3 separate regions of the Homo sapiens genome follow, and regions 1 and 2 are each linked to region 3. The links are contacts of gene promoters, found by promoter capture Hi-C in blood cells and fetal thymus (Javierre and others, 2016). All regions are on one chromosome and are shown on one strand. The core of a region is centred on a gene start or on the middle of the fragment in contact, and the rest is flanking DNA. Distances in the headings are between cores, read along the strand shown. Region 1 overlaps SLC9A5 (solute carrier family 9 member A5). Region 2 holds the start of TMEM208 (transmembrane protein 208). Region 3 holds the start of CDH16 (cadherin 16).

Region 1 (3,832 bases), core at 41-2,540, 340 kb before region 3:
CCAGGCTGGAGTGCAATGGCACGATCTCTGCTCACTGCAACCCCCGCCTCTGGGGTTCAAGCAATTCTCCTGCCTCAGCCTCCCGAGTAGCTGGGATTACAGGTGCCTGCCATCACACCCGGCCAATTTTTGTATTTTTAGTAGAGACAGGGTTTCACCATGTTGCCAGGCTAGTCTCGAACTCCTGACCTCAAGTGATCTGCCTGCCTTGGCCTCCCAAAGTCCTGGGATTACAGGCATGAGCCACTGCGCCTGGCCATGCTCTTTTTAACTCTTATCAACACCAAGCCCGCTACACACTCACCTAGACTGCCTCTGCCTCTACCCTCCTTGCTTAGCACCTTTTCATCATCTAGTGGTAATCCCCTGAAATGCTTCCCAGTGCCTGCCAAATCATCTTATCTTGCCTCAAATCCCAAGTCTGGTCCCTTTATCTCATATTTTCTGCTTCCCTGAACCAGTTCTAAGAGCCCCCTTCAAGTCTTCCATCTGCCCTCCTCATCTACCTATGCACCAGGAGGTACCCTCTCTCCTGGGGAGAAGGGGTCCATCTCCTTCACAAGGCTCATTGCTGCCCAGCCCCGGCCTCCACATTGCTCAGTTCCCTCCTTCCTGCCTCCAGCAGTTCCTGCTGCCTCCTATTCCTCCACTCTCCTGTATCTTCACTCCTTACCTCACCACTTGGCTCCCTCCCCTCTGTTTTCAAGCTCCTGCCCTTGCCTCCTTAAAGAAAGTCTTCCCTTGAACACCATTGTCTCCCTTTTGCTGCTACACTTTTATAATTTGATTCTGACACTTTCTCTCCTACCCACTATTTCCTTAAAAACCAGAAATGCAACTCCAGGGTCCACAACTCCACAGTGCTGCCTTCTTGCTGGTCACCAGTGCTGTGGGCTCTGCCTAGGTGCTGGCCAGGCCTCTGCGCAGCATCCAGCCCTCTTTCTGCCCCAGGCCTGAGGCACCACCTGCCACTGCTTCTCCAAGGGTTCCTTGTCTTTGGCTCTCTTTCCTTTTCTCCCATGCGCACTCCTCAGTGTTATCCTTAGCCCTCCTCCCGCCCCATGAAACACTCTCCTCAGAGAACTTATCCATTCTCTCTGCCCCAGCTATCCCAGTGATACAGATCTGTGGTCCCCCAACATCAGTCATCAGACCAGCTGCATTTGAATCACCTGGGGAACTTAGTAAGAACACAGATTCTTAGTCCCACTCCAGACTACAGAATCAGAATCTCCAGGTGAAGCCAGGAAGTTCCCCAGGGGATTCTGTGGTAGCCAGGTGACAAAACCTGATACAGATTGCTTCCAAATTTCTCTCCAGCCCTTATCTCTCTATTAAACTATAATCTTATCTTTCTAACTGAAAACTAGATATCTCTGTCTCTCTCTAATGATATTTCGATGAAGAACATGAGAAATTGTGGATTGTGTTATCATACTAAGTGGATTCAGAACTGGTTGAGTTACCATACCCCAAAAATGCTTGATCCATGTCAGTCTGGAGGAAAGTCTTTAGTAGCATGCCACAGGGCTCTGTCCTCAGCTCTATCCTGTTCAACATGTTTATGTGGATTTGGATGAATACAAAGTTAACAGGCTTAACAAATTTTCAGATGATATGAATCTAAGAAGGAGACATTTGGTGGCAGACATGGGAACCAAACAATGGGATGATGGGCTAAAGCAAATAAGATGACATTTAACAGGATACACACAAACTTATTCCAGATTTTTAAAAAACAGACTACACATGAACCGATTGGACTGAACCCATTGACCAATCTTATACATAAACACCACATACACACACACACACACACACACACACACACACCTCACCAAATCATTATGTACTTCCTGATGTGACACCACAGAAAATATATAGCATACCTATTGAATGTCCCTGAATTTGATCAGGCCTCTAGATTTAACAACCAGGAAATATAGGGAACGGAGGAACATGTTAAACAACACCACTGGAATACAGTCAGCAAAATCTAGAAAATGTGCAATTCTCCAAGAGAAAGTATCCAGCTTCTTCAATAAATAAATAGCAAGGGAGATAGAGAGGGGAAAAAGAACTATTATAGATTTTTTTAAATGAAGAGACATATTTCCCAAATGCTAAGTGTGGACTTATTTAGACCCTGATTTGAACATCCAGCGGGGAAAAGATATTTATTGAATACTGACTGGATGTAAGAGTTCTTGCCACCTAGAGAGACATACTGAAATATTTTGAGATGATGTGATACGATGTCTGGAGTTTGTTTTAAGATAAAGTGTGGGAGGGATGTGGTAGGGCTGCAGAATGTAATAGAATTGATCATGCACTGATTTTTCAGTGCTGGTTGATAGATAAATATGAGTTATTTTATTCGTTCTACTGGAATTTTGAATAAGAAAGGTTTTTTAAAAACCCCATAGGATGCAGTGAGACAGGGTCTGCCAGCCATTAACTGAGGAAGACCTGGGAGTTTAGCAGATTCTAAGGACAATGTGGGGCCCCAGGGTGGTGAGCCAAGGCTGGAGGGATCTTGGGCTGTGGGAAGAGAAATAGCAAGTTCTAGAACTAGAATGGTGTCAGAGCTTCTAGGCCCTTCCCTGGCCAGCCACAGCTAGAGTAGCAACTTCCATTCTGGGCGCTGTTTTTTTAAGTCCAGAGAAGACATACCAGGAGGTAAGAGATTCTGGCCTGAGGGCAAGAGAGCCTGTGTGAAAGGGAACTGTCTTGAAATTTTGGAAGATGTATTCTGCAGAGCTGCGAAGAGTCAAATCAGGACCAGTGGGTGCAAGTTAAAGGAGGCCAATTCTGTTTCAACAGTAGAAAGAGCTTTGACTGTTGAAACTGCCAGAACTGGTGACAGCTGGCTTCCCATTTTAGAAAGGTGCAAGGTAATGGCTTGCTGCCCTCTTGTGGGGTTGCAACAGACTCTCTCCTGGATGAGCTGGGCCTTTCCAGACGCAAAGCTTCATGATCTGCATTGGACTAACTTCCATTATTTAAAACAGATGCCCACCTTCCACAGGCTAAGCTGGTCTAGGAGGCTTCCTCAGTGCTCTTGCTTCTGTCTGTGACTCCATCATTCTCCAGTGACCCTCAAGGCCCCCAGTACTCTGTCTCCTCCTCCTCTCACCATCAGAGCCAATCACCTAGGCCTACGTGCCCCTCTTCTTTCCCACCGCTCAGCCCTAATCCACAATATTTCACTCCATCTTCCCAACTGGCTGTCCCAGCTTCTCAACTCACCCCCTCCAATTTGATCTGCACTCTGCTACCAGAGAAGGTATCCTTAAACAGTGCTTGTATTAGGTCAACCCTTTCTCCAAAAAATAAAAACAAAGCAGAGGTTTCTTATTACTGATGAGATAAAACCCACACTCTTTTTTTTTTTTTTTTTTTTTTTGAGATGGAGTCTTGCTCTGTTACCCAGGCTGGAGTGCAGTGGTGAGACCTCAGCTCATTGCAACCTCTGCCTCCCGGGTTCAAGCGATTTTCCTGCTTCAGCCTCCCGAGTAGCTGGGATTACAGGCATGTGCCACCGCACCCAGCTAATTTTTGTATTTTTAGTAGAGATGGGGTTTCATTTTTACCATGTTGGCCAGGCTGGTCTCAAACTCCTGACCTCAAGTGATCCGCCTGTCTTGGCCTCCCAAAGTGCTGAGATTACAGGCATGAGCCATCGCACCCGGCTGAAACCCACACTCTTTAGCTGGGCATCTGCAGCTCTCCAACAAGCTGGCGCCAACTGCCTCTTAAGCTCTCCTCAGACCACCTCCACCCCCTCAAAATCCTGATGCCTGCCTGCTCTCACCCTACGGCGCGGCTTGTA
Region 2 (4,025 bases), core at 1,494-3,993, 310 kb before region 3:
TCTGGCTTTAGGCTAACGACTCTTCCAAGGGTACTCCTGAGCGGAGTTGAATGGTGCCTCTCTCAGGCCTCCGCTGGCGTAGTCCCGATCTGGGTTAACCCCCACCTCAGGTCACTTAGATCTCTGGCCTGCCCTGGTACTGATGCCCACCCCGCTCTGGCACTAGTCCTGGTATGGTCCTGCGCCGCCATCCCCCCAGCCCAGCTCTAGCACGGTCTGGCCAGGGATGGCGCCCCGCTCTGGCCCACCCCATATCCCTTAATGTTCTTTCTCAGTTTTCACTCTCACAGCCCCTGGAGAGCTTTGCTGGTGCGGACCCCGCCCTATCCATCCTCCTTACCGCCATGGTGCGAGGCAAATACCCAGCCCGGGAAACACGGGAGAGCGACCGAAACCGCAATCACTAAGCACCACATCGGCAGCTCATGCACTTCCGGCGCAGACCGAAGTCGTCAGCTTTTGCGACGGAAATAGGTCTCACTTCCTTCCCAAGCCCCGCCCCAAAGAGGCGAGACTACATTTCCCAGAAAGCCTTGCGCAGTGGGGGCGGAGGCGGCAGGGATGCGATGGCGGAGTCGCTGCCCCTGGAGGTGAGAGGAAGCCGCCCTCAGGCCTAGCTCTGGACAGGCCCCGCCCTCGCGGTCCTGAGCTTTGGGGAGGGGCTGTCAGATAGCTAGCCCGGCCCCTCCAGCCTGGCGGAAACGACCCGCCCTCCCGATCCCGGGACCTTCTAGCTCTGGGTAACGGTTCCTCCTTTGGGCCACTCTGTCCCTTTAGCTTGGGGGACCGTCCTCCCCTTCCCTATCGGCCCCAGAAGATAGCTGCCCTGTCATCTCCGCGAGAACAGGCCCTCTGCCCATCCCCTTCCCTTGAAGTGGCTGTCTCCTCCCCGCTCAGTTCTGGAAGATGTCCGCTCCATCTCATCGTCCCGAAGGGTAACTGATCTTATCCCCATTGGTCCCTTGGGATGATCTCTCCATTTCCTACAGAGACGGCCGCCCCTTCTCCCTGGCAGTGGGAAACAGACTGCTCCCTCCCCATCAACTGCAATGATCTCTGAGTTCCTTTAACAAGGATAGGCCTGTTCCCCATTCCTAGGCCCCTAGTGATGGCCGCCCTTACCTCTTTCACTCCGTGGGATGTTTGCTCCTTCCCCTTAGCCAGGGGCAAGACCACTCTGCCCCATCTGCCAGGGAGATAACAGGTTTTGTCTTCAGTGGCCTGTTGGAATGGCTTCTCCATCTCTTTTGTCCTGAGGGTTGGCAGCCCCCTCTCTCTGCCCATGGGAAACAGGCCACCCTTTCCCATCGGTCCTGGAATGATGCTCCTGTCCTTAGCAAAAATAGGCCTGTTCCCACCCCTATTGAGCTTGCAGTGCTATCCCTTTCCCCCTTAGCTTTAGGGGCTATCTATTTCCATCCCCATAGACCCCATGAGTGACCAATCATTATCTCCAGTAGCCCCCTTGAGATGGGACTCATGGGATGGTCACTCCATCCTCATCACTGCCTCCTCTTGTCCCTCTAGAAAGGCCACCCTCTTCTTAGGTCAATGAATTGTGTCCCTTCCCGACTCACCCCAAGGGATGACAGGTTTGTTCCCCTCTCCCTTTGCTCTTGGGCTGGCTGCTTAGCCCCAGAAGACAGGATGGCCACTGTCTTAACTCAGCTCAAACAGGCTTCCGTGCCTCCCTGGAGGGATTGGGACTTGGTCAGTCCCAGTCCCCATCAATACTGTCTTCCCTATGCCTCCCTTCCTGGCCCAGAAGTCTATTCTGCCAGTCATTGTCCTCTCAGTAATGACTGCTTTATTTCCCCGACCCCTTCCCTGAGCATACTCTTGGTGAAAATAGAGGTAGAGGACTGGACTGTCCAACCTTAATTTAATCCAGTAAGCACTGGCTGAGCACTGTGCCTGCGTGCTTGGCATCTGAGAAAGGAAGGAGAGATCACAATGGGTTGGTGAAGTTAAGCTTCAAGAAGGGGATCCCAGGGAAAAGGCCCGCATAGGCAAAAGGAAATAGACATGCTGTGTGCGTAGGGCAATGGGGAGACTGGACTGGGGAAGTTTGGGGACCAGCGAGTCCAATCAGGCACAGAGGCCTGGCAGTGCTGATCCAGGAGTGGAGACTGTCCTGAGAGTACTGTGAACCCTGAAGTTTTACAGCAGGGGTGAGCTGAAACTGAAAACTGTTTTATAGGAAAAATTAACCTTGTGACAGTGTGCATAATGTATTAGCAAGGATGAACTTGGAGGCAAAGAGTTCAGGTGGGAGATTGTGGAAGGAATCCAGGTTTGGGGTGGTAGAAATCTGAGCTACTGAGGTGGGGAAGTTGCAGAGGTAGAAATTTTAGTAACAGCAATCCAGCAACCATTTATGGAACATCTAGTTGTCACACACACACTATATATATGTAAAATTTAATCCCCATGAGGCTATGATCTAGATTTTTTTAAAGTATCCCTATTTTATAGATATGGAAACTGAAACTCCCAGAGGTCAAGTACCTTGTTTAAGGTCACACATCAGTATATGTGGAAGTAGTGGAGCTGGAATTTGAATGAGTTTAGGTTAGCCTGGCCTAAAGCCTGTGCATTACACCTGTATCTGGGAGGAAGGGACAGAATGGTTTGAATAGTTGAAAGTGTTATCAGGTAGATGCACTGTTGGCATTGAAAGGGGAATTTGGGAGGAGAGGCTGTTTTGGGCTGAGGGTAGAACATGAGTTTTGGTTGAGATTAAAGTGATGGCTAAACATTTGCATGGACAGTTGGCAATATGGACTAGCACTTGGATAATAGGACAATATGGGAATATTGAATTGTTGGTTATTCCTGTGTTGGTAAACAGAAAACCAAAAGACCCAGGTCTGAGCCCTGGGAGCCACAGAAGAATCCAAAAACGAGACAATTGGGATGCAGGGAGGAAGATTCCAGAAGAAAAGAAGAGTTAATATCAAATCATTCTAGGCCTCACTGGTAACCCCTTCCCCAGTCCCATTTAGGACCTCTAACCTCACCACCCCCTAGGTGGGGGGAAGGGCCTGAGCCTCCCAGGCTAGGTCTTGCTGGGAGCGCATCTTAACAACCAGTGGAGAGGGCAAGGTGGCAGTGAAGAAGACAGAAAAACAGCAGGGTCCCAGAGCCTGAGCCATGAGGGCAGGAGGACCAAGCATGACTTCCTGAGGACCAGAGTGAGCACACCTGGCCTGCTGTGCTCTAGGTCCTATGCAAGACACTTGGCTGTGTTCTTTAATTCTCACAATAATCCATTTAAATCTCACTACAATTGCAATTTCACAGATAAGGAAAACAAAGTTCGAGAGGTCAGTTGGCAGAGTAGAGATTTGAACTAGGTTTATCTGGCCTCAATGCCCAGGCTTTTTCTACCCAGCTAGGCAGGAAGTTTGATTCTTATCAGTCAGTGCAAGCCTGCACCCAGCTCAGGAAAGGTTTGTTTACAGGAAAGATACCTGAAGCCTGGAGCGGGGAAGTGAATGCTTCGTGAAGCTTCACATCCAAGATAAAGTAGAAGCCAGGGCTCTGGTGCCCTCAGACCCATGGTGCTGTCAGCTGGAGTGGGTTCCAAAGACCTCCCACCTCTAACAGTCCCCAATGCCCTGTCTTTTTCCCTCAGATGCTCACATATATTCTGAGCTTCCTGCCTCTGTCAGATCAGAAAGAGGCCTCCCTCGTGAGTTGGGCTTGGTACCGTGCTGCCCAGAATGCCCTTCGGGAGGTAAGGCACCCACCCTCCCCCGTCCCATCCTCAGGTGTTTCTTACTTCAGCTTACTCGTGGCCCTGCTCATGTATCTCCATCCATCTATCCATCCATCCATCCATCCATTCATATGCTCATACATACACATATATACATACATTCATACATACTTGGCTCTGGGTACAGTGCTGGGGCTATACAGATAAATAAGACATAGTTCCCTAAGGAGCTCACATTCCAGTGAAGGAGAAAGACGAGTAATATGAATGATCATGCTATCGTGTGCTCAGCGCTGTGACACTG
Region 3 (3,909 bases), core at 954-3,453:
CATGCTCAGCATTGGCTAATTCAGTTTTGGTGGGAACAGCTGCCGGGAGCCCGCCCTGCCTGGAATGAGAGGTCTTGCATTTGTATAGGAAGGTGTACTCGTGCTTATGTTTAGGGATGCACCTGTCTCCCTGCCCACCCATGCCCATGGCTCCCTCACCCTCGGCACAAGTGCTGCTAAGAGTTTTTATCTACATGGTCTCAGGAAAAACCATCCCCATCTGGTGCTGGGTGGGAAGTGGCTGAGTGGGGACTGGTATACAGGTCTGCCCATCTCCAAAGCCTGGAGGCAGCCTGGGGCGAGGTGGGGGGCAGTTTCTAAGAAGGTTCTGGGCCAAGGTCCATACATTCCTTCCTTAGTTCAATTTATTCAATTTATTCATTCCCTCACCCTCGGCACAAGTGCTGCTAAGAGTTTTTATCTACATGGTCTCAGGAAAAACCATCCCCATCTGGTGCTGGGTGGGAAGTGGCTGAGTGGGGACTGGTATACAGGTCTGCCCATCTCCAAAGCCTGGAGGCAGCCTGGGGCAAGGTGGGGGGCAGTTTCTAAGAAGGTTCTGGGCCAAGGTCCATACATTCCTTCCTTAGTTCAATTTATTCAATTTATTCATTCCACAGACTCCAGGGAGCCCTGGCAACCTGGTTAGAATCCTGATTGCAGCTTATTGAATGGCAGGAGGAGGCTTGAGGGCTGCCCCTCCATGTACAGGGGAGCGCTGAGATTCACCCACGTGCTCCCCAGGGCAGAGGTAACTGCTCAGAGCTGTTGCTGCTCTGCCCCTCCTCCCCACATACTTCAAGGAATGCAGAAGGCATGGTATTTTCAGATCAAGTGAGGGTCCCCAGGCCTTCCTGGCTCTGTCACTTATTGACTGTGTGACCCTAGGCAAACCACTCAGCTTCTCTGTGCCCCAGCATGTGCCCAATGCCCCTTCAGAACGCAGTATGTGGCATAATGAAGGTATGTGCTCAGAGCAGTGCTGGGCACAGAGCAGGAGCTTAACACGTGTGAAACCCCCTTCAACCTCCCCACACTACACTGCTCCAGGCTGGGTGCCAGAGTGACCCTGAAGCAGGCACTCAGCTTGTGACAAGGCTGGGGGCAGCTGGGGGTAGCTTCTGGCCTGAGAGAGACTAATCAGATGTACAGTGGGAAGGACTTCGTGGGGACCATGGGAAGCTCCAAGGCTGGAGAGGGACTGGAGACCTTCTTCCCACCCTCTCCCCTCATTCCAGACTCCCAGGCCCCAGAAGCATCTCCTGGCTCTGCTTGGCTGCCCTCATTGCGGGGAGAGCCCCTGTTCAGCCCTGCAACTCCCTCAAGGTCACCTGAGCCAGTTTAATCTTCTTAGGGGCATGAGACTGCCCACTGTCTCAGCCCTGTCACTGTTGAGTGGCCAGTGTAAGGACTTCGGGAGCTCATAGGCTGCTGCACTCCCCCACCACAGGTCCCCCTGGGGGGGGTGGTCTGGAGCCCCAATACCCACTTCCACTCATGTACTGCTCACCCATCCTTTGCAACCTCCAGCTCCTTGTCTTAGTTCCACAAGCCATGCGGAGCTGCCAGGGCAGAATGAGAGCCAGGTCATTCCTGAGTCCCTGAGTTCTGCTCTCAAAGGGCTCCCAATCTAATGGAAGAGGCAGACAATGACAAGCTGGTGTCCTCTGTGTATTAATAGAGATAGCACATGGCATGGTGTGAGGGGGAGGGGCATTCCCAGAGGAGGCTCCTGAACAAGCCTGGGAACATAGGGGAAGTTTCCTGGAAAAAGGAATATTTGAGCTGAGCACTGAAGCATGCATGAGCAGGTGCTTACCACACAGATGAATGAGTGGGAAGGGTGTTCCATGCAAAAGGAACAGAGTGTGAAAAGGTGTGGCTGCAGACACTGGAGCCTGGGAGATAAGTCAGACCAAGTCTGGAGCCACAGAAAAAGTAACGTCCAGAACCAGAGGGCCAAGGAATACCTCCTGGGCTGTGCTGGGGTCGAGGGAGTGCCAGGCCAACCATCTCCCCACCTCCTGGAGCTGGCAGTCACGGATGCTGAGCAGCTCCTGGCTTTCCAAAGTCAATGAGTAACTTGGGGGGCTGGGCGGGGCCAGGCCTGCTGCTGTGGGCCCAGTGGCCTTTTCCACTCCTGAGCAAGCGTGGCTGAACCCTCCTACCTGCTCAAGTGCCCTGCCTTGCCCCACCCAGCCCAGCCTGGCCAGAGCCCCCTGGAGAAGGAGCTCTCTTCTTGCTTGGCAGCTGGACCAAGGGAGCCAGTCTTGGGCGCTGGAGGGTGAGGGGCTGGGAGTGGAGGGGAGGGCATGGCTGAGGCTGAGGTTGGTGGTGGGGAAAGGAGAAACACTGCCCTGTCCTCGCCATCTGGGAAAGAATTCCCAGGGCCTCATCTTAGAGGGGTTGTCGATTTGTCGCTGCTCTGCCTGCCCAGCTCCATGACAAGGGCTGGAAAATGATGAGACAAGGGCCGGGCTCCTGCTCCGGGGGTTCTCCTTGTCTAGAAGGTGGCAGTGGGAGGCAGGACAGTCCCAGAGGCCCTGAGCTAGGAGGACTCCTCCTGTGGTCAAGTCCTCTGTGACCTTGGCCAGACCCCAGCATTCAGGCCTTGCCTGCAACAAGAGGTGACTTCAGGAAGTGACCCTCCAAGTCTTCAGGAACTTTCCAGCTTCAAACTTTTGTGATTTGGGGGATTGCTAGAAAATTACCACTTTGGGATCTGCGGCCTGGGGAGGCTATGGTGAGAAGGAGCTGGAGGTCTGGAGGTGAAATTCTGATAGAGTGCTTGATGGACCAAGAGCCTAGAAGCAGGGTGGCTGGGCCTGGGGGCCTTGGTGGGCCTGGCCGAGGAGCAGGGCACTACCCTGCAGGAGATGGAGAGCCTCAGCTCCTTTGGAGGGGAGGAAGAGAAGACTAGTCTGCAGTACGATCCCACTAGTTGTGTGTGTGGGATGGAAAGCCCCTCCCTACCCACCTGGGCTGGATCCTCACTGCCGTGTCCCTCAGGCCTGTCCTGACCATGGTCCCTGCCTGGCTGTGGCTGCTTTGTGTCTCCGTCCCCCAGGTGAGCTAGGCCCTGCCCCCTCTCCTTCAGGTCTTGGCTTTGGGGGTTGACACCCTTGCCCCCAACTCCACCTGGACCAATTGCACTGACCGTGAGAACGGTGCAAGGCATGGGAGGGGTCAGAGCTGGGACTATAGAGCCACTGTGGGATGAGGAGGTCAAAGACCAGAGCGCGGGTGGATGGACTAAGGTACAGCCAGGCCCTGGGAAGGGGCGGAAATTCCGCTCTTCTGTTGGGTCTCAGTGCCCACGCAGGAAGATAGAGCCTGGTGACAAGGTGAGAATCCTCCCACAGGCTCTCCCCAAGGCCCAGCCTGCAGAGCTGTCTGTGGAAGTTCCAGAAAACTATGGTGGAAATTTCCCTTTATACCTGACCAAGGTGAGCCGGAGAGCTGGGGTTGGGGCCGGGGGGATCCCTCCCCGCAAAGTCCTGCTTCTCCTTCCTCTGGCACCCTTCCTCTTGCTGTTTCTCTTTGAAATCCTGCTTTCCAGAGAGTATGTACACGTTACACAGGTTGAGTGTCCCCTATCTGAAATGCTTGGGACCAGAAGTGTTTCAGATTTTGGATTTTTTTTTTTCTTCAGATTTTGGAATATTTGCATATATATCATGAGATATCTTGGGGAATGGAACCCAAATCTAGATAGGAAATTCATTTATGTTTCATATACATCTTATACACATAGCCTGAAGGTAACGTTATACATTTTTTTTTCTTTTGAGACGAAGTTTCGCTCTTGTCGCCCAGGCTGGAGTGCAGTAGCATGTTCTCAGCTCACTGCAACTTCCACGTCCTGGGTTCAAGAGATTCTCCTGCCTCAGCCTCCTGAGTAGCTGGGAC

What was found. Contacts are between HindIII fragments. The CHiCAGO score rates a contact against its expected background, and 5 or more counts as called.
Region 1: a fragment that was not itself captured here is called in contact with the fragment with the promoter of CDH16 in region 3 in 1 of 17 cell types (total CD4 T cells); the score reaches 6.0 in total CD4 T cells.
Region 2: a contact is called between a fragment that was not itself captured here and the fragment with the promoter of CDH16 in region 3, in 8 of 17 cell types (non-activated CD4 T cells, naive CD8 T cells, total CD8 T cells and 5 more). The highest score is 7.6, in non-activated CD4 T cells.

The regions. Positions count from the first base shown.
Region 1 is chr16:67,259,929-67,263,760 of GRCh38, reverse strand. It overlaps SLC9A5 (solute carrier family 9 member A5), which reads right to left. Exons shown (of 16, transcript NM_004594.3): 12 at 3,815-3,832. LOC124903701 (a long non-coding RNA gene) reads left to right here. Exons shown (of 3, transcript XR_007065092.1): 3 at 1-1,366. Among named protein-coding and RNA genes, the nearest start is that of SLC9A5, 13 kb to the right of the region's middle. The HindIII fragment of the contact is 3,362 bases long and covers 1-2,971 here.
Region 2 is chr16:67,223,540-67,227,564 of GRCh38, reverse strand. TMEM208 (transmembrane protein 208) reads right to left here and starts at 435. Exons shown (of 6, transcript NM_014187.4): 1 at 341-435. The coding sequence starts at 346. It also overlaps the pseudogene FBXL9P. RefSeq lists an enhancer at 283-632. The HindIII fragment of the contact is 1,538 bases long and covers 1,975-3,512 here.
Region 3 is chr16:66,917,179-66,921,087 of GRCh38, reverse strand. CDH16 (cadherin 16) reads left to right here and starts at 2,203. Exons shown (of 18, transcript NM_004062.4): 1 at 2,203-2,284; 2 at 3,010-3,067; 3 at 3,363-3,446. The coding sequence starts at 3,023. The HindIII fragment of the contact is 16,817 bases long and covers 1-3,909 here.